Regions from separate parts of the Homo sapiens genome. Here regions 2 and 3 are each linked to region 1. Evidence: promoter capture Hi-C in human tissues and cell types (Jung and others, 2019). All regions are on one chromosome and are shown on one strand. Each heading gives the region's core, a stretch centred on a gene start or on the middle of the fragment in contact. The rest is flanking DNA. Distances are from core to core; before and after follow the strand shown.

Region 1 (4,923 bases), core at 834-3,333:
TCTGTGGAGGGACCAGGAGGCTAGGTCAGCGCTTGGACACTTAGGCATACCTCAGCAGCCCCTTGGCTGCCCTTGGATACCCTAGGGGTCTGAGGAAGGAGCAAGACAAGCTACCTGCAGCTTTTCCAGAGCACCTGCCTTGGGCTGGTTCACAGACCTTCCCAGACCTCTGTCCCTTGCTTCTCTTTCCCCGCTGCAGAGCTAAAGGCCCAGAGGAGGGACGGTTGGAGCTTGTGCCTGCTCCAGCCTCAAGCCCAATCCCCATTTCTCCAGCTGCAGTAGCCCCAGCTGGCAGCCCCCTCACCTGCCTCCATCCCCCATCTCTGGGCAGCTTGCCCCTGGCATTTTTCTCAAGGACACCGCCCATTCTGCAGCTCCATGCAGACCCCCACTCCCTTCTCTAGCAGCACCCCCATGCCGTGATTCCTCCCGATAGCCAGGCGAGGTTGGCACTCCATCCTGCTCGCTCCATACGTCCTCCTGCCGCAGCTCCGGCCTGCGGCCACTCCAGCCTCCATTCCCCATCCTTCACTTCCCCATCGGTCTTACCAACCCATTCCCCTTCGCCCCCATCAGGCCCTCCCGCCCTCTCCCGCAGCGCAACCCGGTCAGCGGCACCCCCTTCTCCGAACTAGCGGGGGAATCAAGAGCCCCGCCTACTCGCCCCCTCCCCACCGGAAGTCCCCTCCCCCTCTTGGTGGCGAGAGTGGGGGTCCTCAGGCTATGCCCCACCCCCACACCTCACCTTGGTCCCTCTCTTCGCAGCCATCCCGGTCAGGGGCGCAGCTGACACAAAGGAGGGAGGAACAAGGAGGGGGGGAGGAAGTGGTGGGGGGGAACACGGTTGGCACCGCCCCTGGGAGAGCCAGGCACGGGTTGCCATGACAACCGCAGGCTCGGAAGCAGCCCTGAGTGGGGGTGCGTGGGGTGGGGTCTTGGGGAGGGGTCCAAATTGGGAACTGCACTGTGGGGCGGCTCCTACATCATCCCCCACCTGTCCTCAGTTTTCTTGGAAAATATCCAAGCTCACACGTCCCTCTTCTCATAACAGGGCCTTTCCCCTGAAGCCCCAGCCCCGGTGCACTGCTGGAGGCCACCCCAGCCCACCCGCTGCGTCTGGGCTGCTCCTAGCTCCTCCTCACGCTCCAGCACACCGACGCCTTCACGGCACTCACCTCCGGGCTGCTCCCGGGATTACCCTCTCATACCTGCATCCCGACCCTCCCAGCCGTTTCTGCCATCGCTAGCCCCCTGTCTACATCCCAGCATCTTCCTGGATCCCCACCTGTTCCAGGTCCCAGCTTGCCCCAGAACCCTATACGCCCCCTCCCCTTCCCTCGACCCCACCTTAACTCACACTGATGCGGACCAGTGCGTCCATGATGGAAGTGAAGGTCTGCATATCCTCACCCTCTGCCATGGCCCTACCGTGCCCGCCCGCCCCTGGGTGCCCGATCCCGGCTGCGGCTGCGAACCCCGGGCTTAATGCAGGAGCCCAGTGGGGGTGTGAGGAGGGCTGGGGGTTGAGGTGTCACTGCGCATGCTCCCGGGACCAGCCTCGAACAGCGCCCGTCGGGGTAGGGGGTGGGAAATAGTTCTCCCCACGTGGTTCTCGAAAGCCGGTCGGGGGGTTGGGGAATATGGAAAGGTATTTGACGGGGGAGCCATTTCTTACATTCTCATTTTTCATTGGCTCCTAATTTTACTCATATAAAGCGGGGGATTAGTTTCGGAGGAAAATGAGTTCCTGGTTGGGAGCACTAAATTTTAGGTTGGGAGATGTTGAGGCATGGGGCAGGGAGGTTTGAGGAACGTGCACTAGAGATGAAAGAAATGGCAAAGAAGACAGAGATGGGATAGATGCCACAGGCATGGGCCCAATGACTTAAAGAGATAAGTGCACCTTGTACAGAGTGGCAGCAGACGCACCAGGTACGAGGAAAGCCTGAGGACCAGGGCGGTGGCCGAGGATGCCCCCTCGACGCATTATTTCCTCCCTGTCGCAAGAGGGCGCTGCGTCCAGGCACTGAGAGGAAGAAAGAGGAGAACGCGAGGAGTAGCAAGTCCGCGGTAAGCGCTGACGCATGCGCATAGCTAACCGCACCCGGTTCAGCTCGCCTTTCTTGGCCAGAGGCGCCGGTTGGACTCACGGGCGGGGCATGATGGGTAACAGGACCGGTGGGGTCCCCAGGAAGTCCTAGAGGGGGTCGGGGTTTGGGTGGACAAGCTTTCCTCGTCCTCTCCCGACAGAGCTGACGTGTCCTGGGTTCCACCGGGAGCGGGCATTTCCACCGGACGGGAGGGTTCGGGGTGTCCGGGGCTGGGGAATACGTAGGGGTTGCCGCGCGGTGTGGGGAGTTGGGGCGTGTGGCTGCAGTCCCGGGAGTTCTTGGAGGGGGTCGGCCCACCGAGCTTCCGGACCGGCTGATCTGCCCGTAGCTTGCCGGAGGGAGGGCGGAGCCTGACTCTCCGTCCCTTCTCCCATCCCCTCCAGTGGTGGGTACGGGCACCTCGCTGGCGCTCTCCTCCCTCCTGTCCCTGCTGCTCTTTGCTGGGATGCAGATGTACAGCCGTCAGCTGGCCTCCACCGAGTGGCTCACCATCCAGGGCGGCCTGCTTGGTTCGGGTCTCTTCGTGTTCTCGCTCACTGTATCCTCCCTGCAGTTGGAGGGGGCGGGCCACGTAGGCATGTGCCCTTCCCCTTCCCCACACAGCTCTGTCCCCGTTGCACACCCTACTCCTTAACTCCCTCAACCAGGCCTTCAATAATCTGGAGAATCTTGTCTTTGGCAAAGGATTCCAAGCAAAGATCTTCCCTGAGAGTAAGTGAATATTGGAGCTTGAGTATTTGAACTTTCTCCTCTTTAACCTCCTGAAACATGATATTGAATTTCCAGATGCTTAGGTGAAAGGTTGTTAAGGAGAAATATATTTACTGAAGCTGTCTGAAGACAGATGACGCTTTTCGATTCTGCACCTTGTATAGCTCCTGGAGTTGGAGCTGGAAGAGAAGGCCTTTGAAAGCAAGAAACTTTGGTACCTTCTGGCCAGCTCCCAGGGAAGGTTTGAGGGGAACAGGCAAATTTGGGCTGATGTTTTGCATCTATTCGCTGGGAGGCGGTCCTTGTTCCCACCAGAAGAAGCAGCAGGACCAAGTTCACTATGGAGTTCTGATGTGAAGTTAACTCAATATTAGAGAATTCTACTTATTTGAGGGAATTGTGAAGAGCCTAAATACTAGAGGCACCAAATATCTATGGCAGCAGGAATCCTGACCAAATCAGAATAACTGTTAGATTATTTCCTGTTTGGAATAATTCTTGTTCAATTGCTCATGTAATCAAGAATTGATGATTCAGTTATTTATGGAGAATTAAGTTTATAAAGCAAATTAAGTGTCAAGGCCAGATTACTTAAGGAATGCCACGTGCTCAGAAATTCACAGCAGATGCAATCTCATGTAAAACCCTCATGTGGTAAAACAAAGATCTATCATGGTTGCCCTTAATCTTTTCTCTTTTTTTTTTTTTTTTTTTTTTGAGACAAGGCTTTACTCTGTCGCCTAGGCTGGAGTGCAGGGATGTGATCACTGAAGCCTTGACCTGGTCTCAAGCAATCTTCCCTCCTCAGTCTTACCAGTAGCTGGGACTACCAGTGAGTGCCACCACACCCAGCTACTGTTTTAAGTTTTTGTAGAGATGGGGTTTCACCACATTGCCCAGGCTGGTCTCGAACTCCTGGGCTCAAGTGATCCTCCTATTTCAGCCTCCCAGAGTGCTGGAATTACAGGTGTGAGCCACTGTGCCTGGCTGCCCTCATTTCTTTGCCCCCCTCTAGGACTTGCTTTCTCCGCATAGCCCTTTTGCAGGCTTCAGAGTTCTTTCCATCCAGTAGCCCCGGGACTTCTCTCTGTTAGGTTTTGTTTCCATATGTATTACCTTCACTTGCTTCTTTTTTTTTTTTTTTTTGAGATGGAGTCTCGCTCTGTCACCCATGCTGGAGTACAGTGGTGTGAACCCAGCTCACTGGAGCCTCTGCCTCCCAGGTTCAAGCGATTCTCCTGCCTCAGCCTCCCGAGTAGCTGGGATTACATGCGTGCGCCACCATAACTGGCTAATTTTTGTATTTTTGGTAGAGATAGGATTTCACCATGTTGGTTAGGCTGGTCTTGAACTCCTGACCTTAAGTGATCCACCCGTCTTGGCCTCCCAGAGTGCTGGGATTACAGGGGTGAGCCACTGTGCCTGGCTTTTCAGTTGCTTCTGAAAGAAACCATTGGCTGGGTGGGATGGCACACGCCTGTAATCCTAGCACTTTGGGAGGTGTAGGCTGGCAGATAGCTTGGGCCCAGGAATTCAAGACCAGCTTGGGCAACATAGAGAGACCCTGTCTCTCCAAAAAAATACAAAAATTAGCCGGGCATGGTGGTACGCACCTATAGTCCCAGGTACTCGGGAAGCTGAGGTGGGATGATCGCTTGAGCCCAGGAGATCAAGGCTGCAGTGAGCTGAAACTGCACCACTGCACTCCAGCCTGGGCGACAGAGTGAGATTCTGCCTCAAAAATAAAAAAAAATAATAAAAAAAGAAAAGATGCCATTGTGGTGGGGCAAAGTTCTTGGCCCACTTTGCCTTCTCTGCCCTCTCCACCTGGGCAGGTGGGGCCCTGTTTGTCTTTGCTTTTGTCCTCTCACCTTCTCTCCCATCATATTCCAGGTAACCTAAAATCCTTTCCTGCCCCCATGAAGAAGTAGATCCAAGCACTCTGCCCTCCAACCTGTGTCCAGGGAGCAAGGCCTTCAACTTCCACCACTGGTCACCCAGCTTAATGAATTGACTCTCATTGTCTGGCTTCTTTTGGAAAGGGTTTAACTGGGTTCCCCAAATGGGAACACACCTTGCCCTTCAGACTCTGTTGTCCATC
Region 2 (4,923 bases), core at 659-3,158, 180 kb after region 1:
TTTTTTTTTTTTGAGACAGAGTTTCATTCTTGTCCCCCAGGCTGGAGCGCAGTGGCATGATCTCAGCTCACCGCAAACTCTGCCTCCCGGGTTCAAGTGATTCTCCTGTCTCAGCCTCCCAAGTAGCTGGGATTACAGGCACTCACCACCTCGCCCAGCTAATTATTTTTAGTAGAGATGCAGTTTCACCATGTTGGCCAGGCTGGTCTAGAACTCCTGACCTCAGGTGATCTGCCCGCCTCTGCCTCCCAAAGTGCTGGGATTACAGGTGTGAGCCACTGTACCTGGCCTGGCCTAAAGTTCTTTACTCTGGGCATATATCACCTTTACAAAAAGAATCTAGAAAAAAAAAAGAGTTAACTAAGAAGAAGGCTGAGGAAGAGCTGGTCCCAGGCAGGGAGGAAGAGGGCACTATCTATAATCTCCAGGCCAGTGCCCCAAGTGACAAAGGGCTGGGGGATGATAACTGGCCCCCCAGGAGGGGCCAGAGAATGCTGGATGGGAATCCCAGGGAAATACTGAACAGTCCCAAACAGGCTGGCTCTGAGGTTTGGGGGGCTGTGGGTGGGCAGATCAGTAAGCATAAGCACCCCCTGAGCAAGACGATACACATGGCTGGTGTATATCTACCACCGGGAGTAACTCATGGAAAATACCAGCTGTGGCTACCAAGAGGAAGTAAAGAGCCAATTCTGCTCAATCTAGCTGTTTATGTCCTGATAGGGCTGTGTCATGATAAGCCTGAGGGACCTGTGTGGCCACACAGGTGTCTTTCTCTGGTAACTTTGTATGTGAGCTGGGAGCTCTTGTAGCTCATGGGGTCCTACTTCCTTGATGAGCTGGGGACTAGCCTCAGCGCAGTGCTTTCCCCAAGATCCTCAGAGGCAGGAAGCTGCCTGGACCAGGTCTTCTATTTGGGAAAGGGCTGGGTCCTCTGGGTTTCCACACACCCTTGGCCTCACAGATGAAGACCCTACTCAAGCTGGGTCCCCTCCTTACCCACAGATTGAGAGGAACCTGAACTGTCTTCCACCCTCCCCACTCAGGAACCAGTGAGTCAGAAAACCTGGCTTTCAATCTTGGTTCTATTCAGGACAAGCTCCTTCCCTCCCTGGTCTGCACCCTTGCTCCCAGACCGTTCTAGTGCTGACTTTTTCTGATTCCCCTTTAGACACTTATAATCTTGGGCCTCAAGGCCTATGGATTATATTTATAATTCAGTGATTCTCAAACAGGTTTCTTAGGGGGCAGTCCATTCTTGGTACTATGAGGGTATGGTAAGATCAACCATCTGAGCTGGTGGGCTCACTGTGCCAAGCTTGGAGGAGTGCCAGGTCTTGCCACAATCTTACTGGGGTCCTAGCCAGAGCAGTCCAAGCTCCTGCCCACCAGAGGTCCACCAGAGGCAGGGGTTGGGAATGAAGGAGGCTCAGAGATGAGGCAGGTCTGCTAGATGACACAGCTCAAAGCAGGATCCACACTTTACTGTTTACTCATTGTTTATGGCCCATCCTTGGTCAAGCACAGCTGGCTTCAGGAGTCTTGATGGCAATTGGGCTGGGGGCTAAAGAAGAGAATGAGAAGCTAAGGCAAGCTCTGCCACAGAAGCTGCAGCTATGCCTCCTGTTTACTCTACCCTGCCCACCTGAGCGATGCCAGCCATGGTGCTGGTGGGGAGAGGAGGCAGTTCCCTGCTACCATTAATCCAGCAGTTCCTTGATACACCAGCAGCAGAGGAGGATGTAGGCGACTTCCTTCAGGGTCCGCTGGAAGCCCTCCCACCCTGTGCCCATCTTAATGACAGGCACCCGCAGCCCAGTGTCTCGAGGGGCCCCTCCGAGGAAGAAGGGTAGGGTTTGGGCTAGGGGCTGTGTCCGGGGCTGCATGTGGGCAACAGTTCCGAGGAAGGGTGTGGGAGCTGCCTCTAGTGCCTTTTATCAACACTGTCCCCACCCCCTTCAGCCTCATGACTACAGAGACAAAGGATCCAGGGTCTAGCAAAGGGAAGGTTCTAGGCCTGGGAACAGGCTGAGTCAGCCCCTCTAGACAGGGATGGGAGGGTGGGGTTAGTGGGAGGGAGGGCCTGGCCACTCCATCTTTCATCCTCCACAGCTAGGCCAAGGCAGCTTCCCCTCTTCCAGCCCAGGTGGTGCCCTGCCTGATTGCCCTTTTCCCAGTGGTTGGCACAACTCCTGCTTTCGCCCTCTGGTGGGCTCCTGCTGAGGCTGACATTGAGAACCATCAGTGAGAGCTCCTTTCCAGCCTGTTCTGCCCTGCCCCTGGGCCCCTTAGAGTGAGCACAGCCAGTCAGAGCTGGCAGCATTTGACCCACTTCTGCTTCTCCCATCCTCTGGAGCAGGAAGACACAGCTAGAGCAACAGGCACAGTGAGAGGCACGGTTTATTGCCAGGTTATACCCTAGGACGGTGTCCTTCCCTCCCTCCTAGGGTGGGAGGTCATGTGCGGGAGTTCCGCTCCTCTTCTTCGTTCTCCAGTAGATAGGCTGGACGGTATGTGGGGTGTCCTCCTGGGCTCAGGCACTTCAGGGCCGGGTTCCGCACGGTATTCTCCCGACTCCCCAGTGATGTGTATCTGGAGCAGGGAGGGTGGAGGGCAAGCATGTGGTAGGGTGGGCGATCCTATTGGCCCTCCCTATCCCAGCACCCTAAAAACTCCCTTACCCATTCCCTTCCCCTAATACCCTTACCCTCGGTCATACAGGATACAGTATGGGACAAACAGCTGACGCAGAAAATCCCAGATGTCTCTGTAGGTCCAGTCCTGGGAGGTCAGAGTAATAGAATAGTCACAAATGCTCACCTTTCCCACTTCTACCCCTGCTGTCCTGGGAAGGGGCCCATCCATGGCTCTTCTGCTCCCTTGGCCTCTGAGGGAGGGCTTGCTATCTGATTCTCTGGTATAGCTTGCTCTATGTATGCAAAGAGAAAGAGAAGGACTTCATCTTCTCCACTCTCTGCTTTCCATTCTTGAACCACCCTCTAGTGCAAGGGTGGAGCTTGAGGACAGGGAGAAACCGTCTATTTTTTTTTTGAGACGGAGTCTGGCTCTGTCGCCCAGGCTGGAGTGCAGTGGCGTGGTCTTGGCTCACTGCAACCTCTGCCTCCCGGGTTCATGCCATTCTCCTGCCTCAGCCTCCCGAGTAGCTGGCACTACAGGCGCCCACCACTGTGCCCAGCTAATTTTTTGTATTTTTAGTAGAGACGGGATTTCACTGTGTAGCCAGGATGGTCTCCATCTCCTGACTTCATGATCCGCCCGCCACGGCCTCCCAAAGTGCTGGGATTACAGGCGTGTGCCACCATGCCCGGCCCTATTTTTTTTTTTTTTTTTGAGACGGAGTCTTGCTCTGTCACCCAGGCTGGAGTGCAGTGGCGCGATCTTGGCTCACTGCAACCTCCGCTTCCCAGATTTAAGCAATTCTCCTGCCTCAGCCTCCTGAGTAGCTGGGATTACAGGCATGCGCCACCACAGCCGGCTAATTTTTGTATTTTTTTAGTAGAGATGGGGTTTCACCATGTTGGTCAGGCTGGTCTTGAAATCCTGACCTCGTGATGTGCCTGCCTCGGCCTCCCAAAGTGCTGGGATTACAGGCGTGTGCCACCGTGCCCAGCCCTATTTTTTTTAGACAGGGCCTTTACTGTTGCCCAGGCTGGAGTGCACTGGCATGATCATGGCTCACTACAGCCTCGACTTCCCTGGCTCAAGCGATCTTCCCGCCTCAGCCTGAGTAGCTGGGACTACAGGCATTGATCAGCCCACCTCGGCCTCCCAGAGTGCTGGGGTTACAGGTGTGAGCCACTGTGCCTGGCCAGAACTTCCTGTGATGATGGAAATGTTCTGTATCTCTACTGTCTAATATGGTGGTCATTTGAAATGTGGCTAGTACAACTGAATAACTGTATTTTTTTTTTGTTTGTTTGGACGGAGTCTCACTCTGTTGCTCAGGCTGGAGTATAGTGGTGCCATCTTGGCTCACTGCAACCTCTGCCTCCTGGGTTCAAGTGATTCTCCTACCTCAGCCTCCTGAGTAGTTGGGATTACAGGTGCCTGCCACCACGCTCCGCTAATTTTTGTATTTTTAGTAGAGACTGGGTTTCATCATTTTGGTTAGGCTGGTCTCGATCTCCTGACCTCAGGCGATCCACCTGCCTCAGCCTCCCAAAGTGCAGGGATTACAGGTGTAAGCCACTACGCCCGGCCTGTGTATGTGTGTGTGTATATATATATATACATATATATATATATATTTTTTTTTTTTTTTTTTTTGAGACAGAGTCTTGTTCTGTTGCCCAGGCTGGAGTACAGTGGTGCCATCTCAGCTCACTGCAACCTCCGTCTCCTGGGTTCAAGCAATTCTCCTGCCTCAGCCTCTCGAGTAACTAGGACTACAGGCCACCACGCCTGGCTAATTTTTTGTATTTTTAGTAGAGACAGGGTTTCGCCATGTTGGCCAGGCTGGTCTCGAACTCCTGGCCTCAAGTGATCTGCCCACCATGGCCTCCCAAAGTGCTGGGATTACAGGCGTGAGCCACTGCGCCCAGCCAGAACTGAATTTTTAATTGTACTTAATTTTAAAAATTGAGGTATCCACATACCATCAAATTCATCCTTTTAAAGTATATAATTCAGTGGTTTTTAGTCATATGTATTTCATTCTAATTAATTAAAATTTAAGTATAAATAAATAATTAATGGCTATATTGGACAGCACAAGTCTAAGTCACTATTCTATCCACAGTAGGAAGTGCAATGCCTGCTATTGAATTTGGGCTCAATAAATATTGGTCAAAAGGATGAATGAACAGATAGCACTGCCTCCCTTGGATGATGAGGCCCCTTCATCCAGGTTCCAGGCTCTAGCCTCCCCACTACTGCAGGTGAGCTAGGGTGCAGTGACTGCTG
Region 3 (4,923 bases), core at 1,118-3,617, 150 kb after region 1:
TGGTGCCTGGCCACGGGCTGGATTTTGGGGGCAACTTGGTGGTTTGTTAGGCTGAGAAGTAGAGGAAAGCATTCCAAGGGGAGGCCTGTGTGGGTTTGGAGAATGTGAGGCATTCAGAAGGGTAGAGCCCAAGGGATGGGTGTGGCTGGGTAGAGACCTCAGAGAATGCTGGGAGATGAGGTTGGAAGTCAAGGTGGGAAGAGATGGGCAAGAACCTTAACTTGTCATTTGAAAAGCTTAGGTTGGAAAGTGATATGCTCATATTTGTCTTTTAAGACCATAAGCGGGCCGGGCACGGTGGCTCATGCCTGTAATCCTAGAACTTTGGGAGGCCGAGGTGGGTGGATCACCTGAGGTCAGGAGTTCGAGACCAGCCTGGCCAACATGGCGAAACCCCATCTCTACTAAAAATACAAAAATTAGCCGGGTTTGGTGGTGCATGCCTGTAGTCCCAGCTACTCGGGAGGCTGAGGCAGGAGAATTGCTTGAACCCAGGAGGCAGAGATTGCAGTGAGCCAAGATCACACCACTGCACTCCAGCCCAGCCTGGATGATAGAGTGAGACTCAGTCTCCAAAAAAAAAAAAAAGACCATAAGCAAAGAAGGCAGAGTGGAGGTTGGGCAGGAGCAGGGAGGTCAGAGAGAAGCTTGTCTTAGTCTAGGAGAAGTTCGTGATGGCCTCAGTACTGAAGTGCTGAGCGTGACTGGGATTTCTATGCTTGGGCCTGGGCAGGTGTTAGGGCAGGAAGATAAACAGGTTCTGGGGAAAGACGACTGGCCCAGTTTGAGATCTTTGAGGTGTCTGTAGGGCATCCAGCTGGAGATGCCCAGGGGGGCAGTTAGAAAAGGGCAGGGATCCGGGCTGGAGGTATATTTTTGGGGGGTTAAGTTAGAGACTGTAAGAGAGAGGATGAGCTAGATCATCCTGGCAGAGGGCATGGCAGGAGAGTGGGAGGGGACAGGGAGGGGAGAGGCTCAAGAAAGCAGGAGAGCCAAACATATGAAATCAAGTAGGGGGATGGGCACAGTGGCTCACACCTGTAATTTCAGCAATTTGGGAGGCCGAGGTGGGCCGATCACTTGAGTCCAGGAGTTCGAGACCAGCCTGGGCAACATGGCAAAACTCCATCTCTACTAAAAATACAAAAACTTGCCAGGGCATGGTGGCTCACGCCTGTAATCCCAGCACTTTGGGAGGCTGAGGCGGGAGGACCACTTAAGGTCAGGAGTTCGAGACCAGCCTGGCTAACATAGTGAAACCCCATCTCTACTAAAAATACAAAAATTAGCCAGGAGTGGTGGCACGCACCTGTTAGTCCCAGCTACTCAGGAGGCTAAGGCAGGAGAATTGATTGAACCTGGGAGGTGGAGGTTGCAGGGAGCTAAGATTGTGCCACCGCATTTTAGCCTGGGTGACAGAGGGAGGATTGGTCTCAATAAATAAATAGGTAATAATACAAAAATTAGCTGGGCATGGTGGCGTGCATCTTTAGTCCCAGCTTTCAGGAGGCTAAGGTGGGAGGGATCACTTGAGCCAGGGAGGCTGAGACTGCGGTGAGCCAAGATTGCACCACTGCACTCCAGCCTGGGCAATAGTACAAGACCCAGTCTCAAAAAATTAGAAGATTAAAAAAAAAAAAATCAAGTAGGATCATGTGAAGACAGGTGACAGGCAGTTAAGACATCACTGGAGTAGCTTGTGGGAATATTTTTCATGGCATCGGGAAGACCAAAACTGGATCTGTCATGATGGGTTGAGGGGTGTCAGGTAAAGAAGACTCAGAAAGGCTGGGTGTGGTGGCTCACGCCTGTAATCCTAGCACTTTGGGAGGCTGAGGCGGGCAGATCACTTGAGGTCAGGAGTTTGAAACCAGCCTGGCCAACATGGTAAAACCTTGTCTCTACTAAAAATACAAAAAATTAGGCATGGTGGCAGGCGCCTGTAATCCCAGCTACTTGGGAGGCTGAGGCAGAAGAATCACTTGAACGCGGGAGGCGGAAGTTGCAGTGAGCCGAGATCGTGCCACTGCACTCCAGCCTGGGCGACAGAGCAAGACTCTGTCTCAAAATAAATAAATAATAAAAGGACTCAGAAATATGGTATGTGGCTCCTGCATCACTGTTGCCAGGAGTTTGATAATGCTTTTAATCTAATGAGTGCTGTAGTTTGAAAAAAATGTAAGCTTGATGGTGAAGAGAAAGAGAGAGTTAGCTTCACAGAGCAAGAAAGTAGCTTGAAGGGGATTCAGCACTAAAAGGGTTTTCTAGATCTAAGAACAGGAAGATTTGAGCATTTAGGCAGTGTAAAAGCACGTTGGGGAGGGAGGTTTGGGCTCCAGGGCCAGGTGGACCAGGTGGCCTGCCTGAGAAAGGAGCAGGCTGGCAGAGGCAGAGGGGGAGAGTATAGGTTCCCCTGAGCAGCTGAGCCCACTCCAGCCTGGTGGCCTCGCTTCTCTTTGGGGAGTAGGAGGCAAGAGCACCTGCTGAGAGAGCAGAGCAGGCAGCTGGGAGTGGAATAAAGGTTTCAAGGAGTGGGTGGTAGAGGTTGAAAGACCTGCCGTGGCAAGTGTGCAAAGAAGCCGACTAGGGAGGTTAAGGGATTTCCAGGTAGCGTCAAAGGCCCAGATGATGCTGGAAGCTGTAACTTGTAATGATTGCTCCAGTGCGCTCAGTTATGTGATTTTCTCTGGCAAATGTGGTAGCCATGAATAGGATTCACAGGTGGAGGGCTTTTTCTGGGCAGGTCAGGAGGACAAGATGGAGTGAGAATTGAGGTGTCTTTGGTAAGAGTGTCTGAGATGACTGGGGAAGAGGAGGGGCTAAGGCCCCTGGGGGCAGCCCAGGGTCTCTGTCTTGATGACGTGTTAGAGCAGGGGCAGTGGCCAGGAGGGAGAGCTGGCTGAACAGGAGGGACTCAGAGAGGGGGCCATGGCCAGGGAAGAACTCTGGAATGAATCCAGTGAAAGGCCAAGGCTGAGGAAGACGTCTGAGTGGGAACAGAGATGACGGTCAATAGAACCAAGGAGGTTAGGGATTGAGAGGCCAGAGAATTGGGTGGGTCCTCTAGCGACGAGGTTGCAGGACCATACAAACAGCAGGAGTCCAGAGCCGGCATCTTAAACAGATGTGGCAGGTGTCTGGCAGGCCTGAGGAGACAGCCACAGCACTGGTGGTACAGCTATCATGGCAGCCAGGGGCTTTGCAAAAAAACACTACGGGCCAGCTGGGTTTGAGAAGGTTAAGCTGCCTCCTCTTGGGAGGACTGCAAAGAAAACTGTCCAGTGGGCACATTCCAGTGTGAATGGGGCGGTAGAGGTCATGATGAGTCAAGAGGTTGAAGGGGAAGCAAAGCTTTCTTTTCAGAGGTTCTAGAGGGCCCAGTGAAAGGATAAGCTGGGTCAGCAGAGGGGACAGCTTGAGCCTTGAGCAGGTGTGACTACTGAGGTCACTAGTGATTCTGCCCTTCCTAGCCATGTGGCCTCAGGCAAGTCACTGCCCACCCCCCAGCATCAGCCTAAAATCAGAAAATATCTACAGCCATGGGCTGGTACGCCTCGTGGGCCTGAGAGAGCAGGAGTTGCTCAGAAAGAACAGGAGCTGGATCTGAACAGATGGGGCAGGGCAGGGGGCAGGGATGCACCTGTGAAGACAGAAGGTGGGTGATCCGGCCACCCCCTTCCTCTCCTCACTAGTGACCTGGATGAGGAGAAGGGGCCTCAGCAGAGGAAGCACGGGCAGCAGCCCTTACCTGAAGCCCATCAGCCTGTCAGCATTCTCACCAGCCCTGAGCCCCACAGACCACCTGAGACATCCTCCGCCACTAAAGGAGCCCCCACTCCAGCTTCAGAACCCTCAGTCCCTCTCTCACCTCCCTCTCTTCCTGATCCTTCCCACCCACCCCCCAAATAAACCAAAAGTGGACACAAGTGTGAATCTTAAATTATTATTATTTCTTCCTGTCGCTTACACCCGAGGTGGGGGAGTTGGGGTGGGGGGAAGGGAATAGGAGGGGGGGAGTGCCTCTCCCCCTAAGGCACTGACTGGGAAAGCCGAAAGTAGGGAGAAGGGAGGCCACATTGTCCCCACTTTCTGGGGCTGGGCCCCAGGTCTCCCCAGCCCTGGGCTCCCCCCATCACCTGAAATGCTAAGATGAGGCCCAGGACAACCCGATCTCCCCGCCACCCCAATATATTACATCATCACTTTTTAAATAGATAACAGGGACTGGTCCCGCTACCCCCTCCCTGTGACCCCTCCCCACTGTTAGGGGTACCTGGGCAGCTGTGCAAATGGGCATGGGGGTGCATGGAAGGGAGGAAGAGCACCGGGCCCCTGAACCTGCCCCTTTTAAGGAGGGGGAGGAGCCGTCAGGCCAGGAAGGGGAAATAGTGCAAGGCAGAGCCCAGGCTGCAAAAGGGGTCCAGCACCCAGCGAGGAAGGGGGGGTGTCCCCCACCCCCAGCAGAATTGGGTAGTTAAAAATCTGAAACTAGATTTCAACAAGACCAACAGAAGAGGCTATGTACAGAATGGGGGTGGATTCAATCCTAAGAGCAGAGTGGGGATTATTCTCCCCTGCCTGACAGGAAGCCCGGCTGGCAAGGATCTGGGAAGGGGATCACTTTCCCACAGGTCCGCAGCCCCTTCCCCTGCGGCCAAGCGAGAAGTTCTGTGCCCACTGCCTTGGCAAGGGGGCGCCGCTCACCAGCTGGGGTGGATGAGGAGCGTGAAGACAGCTCGCTCCAGTGGCCGCGGGGGGCGCTCGCCCACTCAGAGCATGGCCGCCAGATGGCGCCGGCTCGCCCGCTCTCCACAAGGCTCTTCCAACCCCTTACCCTGTCCCACACCCTTCGCTGCGCCAGCCCGGGGGCGGCGTGAGTCAGGGGCGGCAGCGGTGGCGGCGGCTCCGGCTCGCACCTGGGCG

What was found. The method cuts DNA at HindIII sites, captures the fragments that hold promoters and counts their contacts. A contact is called where the count stands out against the background at its distance.
Region 2: the fragment with the promoter of LENEP here is called in contact with the fragment with the promoter of KRTCAP2 in region 1 in 1 of the 25 tissues and cell types used here (adrenal gland).
Region 3: a fragment that was not itself captured here is called in contact with the fragment with the promoter of KRTCAP2 in region 1 in 2 of the 25 tissues and cell types used here (H1 embryonic stem cells and dorsolateral prefrontal cortex).

What each region holds. Positions count from the first base shown.
Region 1 is chr1:155,170,464-155,175,386 of GRCh38, reverse strand. KRTCAP2 (keratinocyte associated protein 2) reads left to right here and starts at 2,083. Exons shown (of 5, transcript NM_173852.4): 1 at 2,083-2,166; 2 at 2,495-2,649; 3 at 2,759-2,822. The coding sequence starts at 2,163. TRIM46 (tripartite motif containing 46) reads right to left here and starts at 1,538. Exons shown (of 10, transcript NM_025058.5): 1 at 1,358-1,538; 2 at 1. The coding sequence starts at 1,420. RefSeq lists silencers at 1,000-1,294, 1,464-1,553 and enhancers at 1,303-1,811, 1,884-1,933, 2,134-2,233, 1,812-2,320, 2,424-2,703. The HindIII fragment of the contact is 7,811 bases long and covers 1-4,923 here.
Region 2 is chr1:154,990,571-154,995,493 of GRCh38, reverse strand. It overlaps LENEP (lens epithelial protein), which reads right to left and starts at 1,908. Exons shown (of 1, transcript NM_001394530.1): 1 at 1,179-1,908. The coding sequence starts at 1,886. The coding sequence ends at 1,701. It overlaps FLAD1 (flavin adenine dinucleotide synthetase 1), which reads right to left. Exons shown (of 7, transcript NM_025207.5): 6 at 2,708-2,781; 7 at 2,383-2,592. The coding sequence ends at 2,457. The HindIII fragment of the contact is 8,242 bases long and covers 391-4,923 here.
Region 3 is chr1:155,017,530-155,022,452 of GRCh38, reverse strand. DCST2 (DC-STAMP domain containing 2) reads left to right here. Exons shown (of 15, transcript NM_144622.3): 15 at 3,693-3,926. The coding sequence ends at 3,909. It overlaps ZBTB7B (zinc finger and BTB domain containing 7B), which reads right to left. Exons shown (of 3, transcript NM_001256455.2): 3 at 3,930-4,923. Among named protein-coding and RNA genes, the nearest start is that of DCST2, 14 kb to the left of the region's middle. RefSeq lists a silencer at 4,668-4,923. The HindIII fragment of the contact is 3,850 bases long and covers 443-4,292 here.